Regions from separate parts of the Homo sapiens genome. Here region 1 is linked to region 2. Evidence: promoter capture Hi-C in 16 types of primary human blood cells and fetal thymus (Javierre and others, 2016). All regions are on one chromosome and are shown on one strand. Each heading gives the region's core, a stretch centred on a gene start or on the middle of the fragment in contact. The rest is flanking DNA. Distances are from core to core; before and after follow the strand shown.

The links. The method cuts DNA at HindIII sites, captures the fragments that hold promoters and counts their contacts. A CHiCAGO score of 5 or more calls a contact.
Region 1: a fragment that was not itself captured here is called in contact with the fragment with the promoter of MRAS in region 2 in 1 of 17 cell types (monocytes); the score reaches 5.4 in monocytes.

What each region holds. Positions count from the first base shown.
Region 1 is chr3:138,070,670-138,074,287 of GRCh38, forward strand. It overlaps DZIP1L (DAZ interacting zinc finger protein 1 like), which reads right to left. Exons shown (of 16, transcript NM_173543.3): 12 at 974-1,166. Among named protein-coding and RNA genes, the nearest start is that of DZIP1L, 43 kb to the right of the region's middle. RefSeq lists an enhancer at 58-559. The HindIII fragment of the contact is 2,326 bases long and covers 1,054-3,379 here.
Region 2 is chr3:138,346,477-138,349,993 of GRCh38, forward strand. MRAS (muscle RAS oncogene homolog) reads left to right here and starts at 2,103. Exons shown (of 6, transcript NM_001085049.3): 1 at 2,103-2,291. RefSeq lists an enhancer at 1,615-2,570. The HindIII fragment of the contact is 4,446 bases long and covers 1-3,517 here.

The sequences.
Region 1 (3,618 bases), core at 967-3,466, 280 kb before region 2:
TATCCTCAGAGATACGTGGGCCATACTCTGCAAAATTTTTTTGCATGAAGAGCTCAAATCGGTTCTTCCTGGACACAGGAGATACAGAACTGGCCTCCTTCTGGCCACATGTGTCCCTGACTGAGGAGACGAAGTAAAAGGAGCAGGACAGCACCTGCATGAGCAGACCAGACCCACTGAAGCCCTCCCCAGAGCCTCTCACCACAGCAGCCCAGACCCTCTTGGAACCCTCTGGAAACAGGGGGCTCTCAAACCTGGGAACACAAATACACTTGCTCCGTAAGAACAGACTCAAGGGTCCTGGTCCACAGAATTTCGTGTTCCACCAGAACCACAGGGCCTTCTCTTGTCATGACCCCCAGAGCATGGACAAATGGTAAAGTGGCAGCTATGACCTGGCCCAAGGAACCAACTATGAGCTCTGAGAATTCATCTGCGTGCAGAACTGGCCCAGTCTCTCATGCTCTCCCATGGCCAGAGCAGGGGCTATCTGAGCTCTGCAGAAGTTTACATTCAATTGATATTTGCCTCCACCTGCAGCTTCAATGCTCCCGGGCCTCTGCCTGCCTCCCCAGGCTGGCATGCCTGGTGTGTAGAGCCAGAAACTGAATAGGCTGCTCTCTGTTGAAGAGACACTCAACTGTGGTCGCAACAAGCCAAACAGAATGAAGGTGCTAAGGGAGGCAGCATGTCTGCACAGGGACAGTTCAGGCTGACAACAGGCTCCAGCTCCGGCTCTCCTCCAACTTCCCCGAGTGACCCTGGACAAATGCCCCCACTCCACCCCAGATCCTATTTCCTCAACAGAGAACTTCTGGACTCAGTCCCCTGTAAGGACCCTACCAGCTCAGCCCTTCAGAGAAGTGCCCCTAATGGGGGACAGAGACTATACCCTCCTCATGTGCAAACAAGTTTTGGCAAGAATGGGACCCTTACAGGTCACAGCCCTGAGCAAGCCCTCTCCCCAGTGTACCTGAAGGCTGCCCGTCTGGCTGGGACACCACAGCGCCATTCTCCTGTCTCTCCTTCGCTCTGCTGGTGACTTCCTTGACAAGCTTTCCCCTCAGACTCAGAAATTCAGAAAACTTCCGGGCCTTCTGCTCCCGCTGGACTCTCAGCAGGGATTCCAGGTGTCTGAGAGTCTGAATCGAGATTCCCTTTGCATCCTAGAGGAGACAGGAGTTCACCTTTACAGAGAGAGGCTACCCTTCTTCTCCTTCCCCTAAGCCTCTCACACCTGCTGCTGCTGGCCTGGGAGTCTGTGATCAGTGCCTGGTGCTTTTCTTGCAGGACTGGGGGGCATGAAATGAGGATCAGAGAAGGGTAAGCAGCGGCTTCAAAGTTGCTGAAAGTGCAATGGTTCAGGGTTTGGGAGCCCCATCAAAATGTGCACAGCAGGATAATGCAAAGGACTGCGTCACAATTCTGACCACATCATAGCATAAGGGACTTCGTTGGAACATGCTTTTCTACCATCTGACTGAATCCTAGGATAAGAGACCACAGCTTGCTCATTTTTGTACTCCCAATTACTATTATTATGCCAAACACACTGTCCATGGCTAACAATGTTTAAAAAACTAAACTGCTGTAAACACAATCCAAGTACCCTTTCAAGACCTATTGGAAGTTGCTCGAGCTTTTGACATCCACCCAGAGCCCATGGGAGGGTCCAGGGAGGCATCTGAATCCAAGATGAGGATTCATGCAAGGTTAGAAAGGAATGTCTTAATCAAATCTGAATATAGGGCCAAAGTTAGAGTAGTCAGTAGTTGAAAACAATCAAAGTAGTGACCATTCTTCCTAAAATAACCCTAGTTGTCTATTTTTTTTTTCTAACTTACTCTACACAAACAGCATTCCAATAGTGTAATGCTTGGCTAATTTAATAATAGGTGTGTTTTTATTTAATAATAGATTTCATTGGTGCTTCTAATAATAACATACGTGTTCTGGTTAAGCACAATGGCATTCAAATACTAGTTGGAGAGAGAATCCATAGACCCTGTAAAGGAACTGGATCACTGCTGCAGACTCCCTGAGATGCCGAAAACCTGAGTCTGCTTGCTTTCTCAATGGGGAGGTTTGTGGTCTGGGGCAAGTTCCCAGCCCTGGTCACTGGCTGCTTGGAAATAGACTTGCTCCTGTTGGTGGGGCACAGTGCGAGTGAGACCGGACTTTAGGACCGCAGGCTGCGTGGAGATGGGCTGAGGCCTGTGACTGCCAGATTTCCCCCACTTCCCTGGCGACCTGTATGACTCAGCAGAGGCAGCCATAATCCCCCTGGGAATATAACTCCATTGGACTGGGAACACACCCTCATCCCCAACAGTAGCTGCAGCAAGCCACACCCAAGGAGAGGCTGAGCTCAGACACGTCTATCCCTGGCCCCACCTGGTGGTCTTCCTGCACCCGCCCTGGTAGCTGAAGACAAAGGTCATAATCCCTTAGGAGCTGTATGGCCCTGCCCACCGCCTGAGAAACCTGAATACTTAACCAGGTGTCCCTAGGGCAAGTAGGGAAGTATGCATCCTCCCTATAGGACCACAGTTTGAAAGCACCACCTCCTAGCTGGAGGCCAACAAACACAAAACCAATGCACTAAACAAACAAAAAGAAAAAACAAGGACCCTCAAGAGTCCACTTCACTCCCCTACTACCTCCACTGGAGCAGGTGCTGGAATAGTATCCACGGCTGCAAGACCTGAAGATGGATCACATCACAGGACTCTTTGCAGACACTCCCCAGTACCAGCCTGTAACTCTACTGGGTGGCTAGACCCAGAAGATCAAAAACAATCACTACAGTTCAGCTCTCAGGAAGCCCCATTCCTAGGGGAAGGGGGAGAGCACTACATCAAGGGAGCACCCCATGGGACAGAAGCATCTGAACAGCAGCTCTTGAATCCCAGATCTTCCCTCTAACATAGTCTACCCAAATGAGAAGGAGCCAGAAAAACAATTCTGGTAATATGACAAGACAAGGTTCTTTAACACCCACAAAAATCATACCAGCTCACCAGCAATGGATCCAAACCAAGACGAATCTCTGAATTGCCAGAAAAAGAATTCAGAAGGTCAATTATTAAGCTAATCAAGGAGGGACCAAAGAAAGGTGAAGCCCACCTTAAAGAAACAAAAAATGTTATACAAGAGATGAAAGGAAAATTTTTTAGTGAAATAGCATAAATAAAAAGTTATCACAACTTCTGGAAATCAAAAACACACTTAGAGAAATGCAAAATACACTGAAAAGTCTCAGCAATAGAATCAAACAAGCAGAAGAAAGAACTTCAGAGCTCAAAGACAAGGCTTTCGAATTAACACAATCCATAGAAGACAAAAAAGAATTTTAAAAAAATGAACAAAGTCTCCAAGAAGCTTGGGACCATGTTAAACATCCAAACCTAAGAATAATTGTTATTCCCAAGGAAGAAGAGAAATCTAAAAGCTTGAAAACATCTTCGAGGGAATAATTGAGGAAAACTTCCCCAGCCTTACTAGAGACCTAGGCATCCAAATACAAGAAGCTCAAAGAACACCTGAGAAATTCATTGCAAAAAGATCATCACCTAAGCACATAGTCAACCGGTTATCTAAAGTCAAGATGAAGGAAAG
Region 2 (3,517 bases), core at 853-3,352:
GCAAACCTAGACAGTCGAGGTAAACTACTGTCCCTCAAGCCTTCTCCCCAACCAGGTCTTTTACTCCCTACTGCCAAGGAGAGATACTCTTGATGGCACCCAACCTGCTGTCCCCTTCCTGGGGGACACTTGGGGTCTACAGGGTCTTTGGAGCAGCAGGTGGGAGTGGAGGCACAGGGGGTGCACAGCAGCTCCCACCAAATGGCTGCATGGGTGGCTGGGATGCCAAAGGAAGCCTGCATGGGATTAAGAGCCTCAGCATGGCAGGCAGAGCCAGCAGCACTGTGAGGCTCCCTTAGGCCTGGGGCAAACCTGAGAAGGGAGTGGGTTCCCTGGACATGTAAAGCTGGTTCTAAGTCATTGAGGTCCACCCAGAAAAAGAATGTCCTCAGAAATGATGCTGACAATCAAAACCACAATGAAATGCCATTTCGCCCCCAATAGGATGACTAGAATAAAAAAAGACACACAATTACAAGTGTTTGCAAAGATGTGGAGATATTGGAACCCTCATATGTTGTTGGTGGGAATGTAAAATGGTGCAGCTGCTTTGGAAAACAGTTTGGCAGTTCCCCCAAAAGTTAAACATGGAGTTAACATATGATCCAGGAATTCCACTCTTAGGTATATACCCAAGAGAAAGAAAAGCATATGTTCATACAAAGACTTGTACATGAATATTCATAGCAGCTTTATTCACAGTAGCCCCAAAGCAGAAAACTAAATATCCATCAAGTGATGCAGGGATAAACAAAACGTATAGACATACAGTGAAATATTACTCAGTCATGAAAAGGAATGAAGTACTGCTACATGTTACAACATGAATAGATCATTAAACATTGGTTACTGAAAGAAGCTAGTCATAGTCACAAAAGGCCACATGTTGTATGATTCCGTTTATAGAAAATGTCCTGAATAGGGAAATCCATAGAGATTGAAAGTAGATTAGTGGTTCCCAGAGGCGGAGGAAAGGGGTGAATGAGGAGTGACTGCTAACGGGTAGTTCTTTTTGTGAGGGGCAGGGGAGGGGAGTGGGAAGTGGTGAAAATGTTCTGGAATTAGCTCATGGTGATGGTTGCAAAACTTTGTGAATATGCTAAACACCACTGAATCGTACACTTTTTTTTTTTTGAGACAGCGTCTCACTCTGTTGCCCAGGCTAGAGTGCAGTAGCGCAATCTCGGCTCACTACAACCTCTGCCTCCCGGGTTCACGTGATTCTCCTGCCTCAGCCTCCCGAGTAGATGAGATCACAGGCACGTGCCGCCATGCCGGGTTGACTTTTGTATTTTTAGTAGAGACGGGGTTTCACCATGTTGCCTAGGCTGGTCTTGAACTCCTGACCTCAGGCGATTCACCCGCCTCGGCCTCCCAAAGTGTTAGGATTACAGGCGTGAGCCACCGCGCCCGGCTTGAATTGTACACTTCAAAAGGTGGAATTTTATGGTGTTGAATTATATCTTTATTTTTTTAACGGGGGGAAAATGACGCCGCTGGAGAGGAGTTAGCGGAACTGAAACAATGAAATGGTGCGCGAGTGTCGCCTGTCCCCGTCGCATCCATCCCAACGAAGTTTGGGCCCTGGAACGGTGCACCCAGAAGGCCTGCGGGGAGAGACGCTGGGGCATGATCTGGAAGAAAGACGTCTCAGGATTCGAAGGGAATGCAGCTAAGGTGGCGGCGGAGGTTCGCCTAGGACTGGGGAGGCGTCCCTAGGCTCAGAAGTTGGCCCGGCCGGAGCGGAGATTTAAAGGTTGGAGCGCAGAGGCTCTTAAAGAGGCCGAGTCGAATTCCCACTCGGCGTCCACCTTAAAGCCAGCTCCCCGGCACCACGGATCTGACCCGGGTAAGTGCTGGGCCGCGGGAGAGGCTGCGGCGCCGACCCCAGCCCCTGGCGCTCTAGCGCGCCCTGCCGGGCCCAGGGGACTCGGCGCGGGTGGGCTGGACTTCGTAGGCGCGCGTCCTGGGGGCCGGGGTGCACGCGGGGGCGACAGGGTCGAGGCACCCGGCCCGGGCTCCCCACTGGCGCGCCCGCAGCGGCGCTCTATTTTTAGCAGGCGCTGTGGCAATATAAGGAATGCGCGGCGCGCTAGGCGCTCGGGGCGCACGCTGGCGGCGCGGTCGCTTTAAGGAGGCGCCGGGGCGGGGACGGACCGGAGTGGCCGGCTGGCGGGGAGCCGTCAGTCCGGCGGCCGCGGGGCCCGGCGGGCGCGACGCTGCCTCCTCACCGGCGCAGGCTAGGAGGGGGCGGCCTGAGTGCCGTAGCCGAGCCGGGGCTGGAGCGCGCGGTGAGTGGTCGGGCGGCCTTGGAGGGGAGGGGGCCCGGCCGCGCCGCCTCTCGCCCCGGCCGTCGCTTTGTTCCGGGGCGGGAGGTGTGGCCGCCCTCCGGGCTCGGCCGCGCTCTCCGCTTGCGGGGTGCGCCCTGGGACCGGCTGTGCGTGGCGTTTTGCCCCCATCGCGGGCTCCCGCGTAACGGTGTGCGTTCGTGAAATCGGCCACGACCAAGACCCCAGTGGGGAGGGCCTGCGCGCCGCTCAGAGAGACCCTTTCATGGTAATTACAGTTCCTTGGCTGCCTGGGCGAGAACCCGGTGGATAGATGGGCGGCAGGACGGGGCGGCGGGGGATGGGTGGGTGGGTGGGGGACTCTTTACCCCCCCGCCTTAAGATGGCGTTAACGAGGGGAGGGATCCGCCAGGGAGTTGACAAATTCATCTGAATAATAAAACGCAGCCTGCTTCATAAACAACCCTTCACTGCCCCCGGAGGTTTGGGGAGCTGGAGCTGTGGTCACAACTAGGGCCTGGGCTCATGCATTGAACTGATCTGGCTGAGGCATCAGACACGGTGCCAGTCCTGCCCTGCGGGGAAGACAAGAGCACAAAGTGACAAGCCAGTGTGGTAAGTGCTGAGATTCGGTAAGCCCAGGGGTTGTGGGAGCCCCTAGGGGTCCCTACTGCAGAGTGGGAGGTGAGAGAAGGCCGCCTAGAGGAGTTAATGTCTGGCTGGCCGCAGCGTATACACTGGACACCCAGTTAGACTCTGGCTAGAGCTGAGGTCTGTTCTGGCCTGGGGCAAAGTGGAGTCTGGAGAGGTGGACAGAGTCCATCAAGGCCACTGGGGCCTTGATCATAGAGCTCTGCCATTGCCCCTACTCCCCAATGGCCCCTGATGGTGTGGAACCTCCCTGGCCTTGCTCCTCTAGGACTCACTCTGTCCTGGACCTGACCAGAGAGGGTGGCTGACAAGGCTCGGAATCGTGGCCTCCAGAGGTTTGTCTGGCAGCAGAAGTAAGATGGAGATATGACTTTAAGAGCTCTGAAACTCCACTGTAATAACAGCAACCAACAGGGCTTCCAAAGACCAGGCACTTGAAGTGGATTTGCTCATCATTTGACAAGACACCTCTTGACAAGACACCTCCAGAAGGATTTTGTTTATTGTAAAGGATGGAGGAACTGGGGTGAAAAAGAGCCAACAGCTTGCCCAAGATCATATCTGAAGTCCATGCTTTT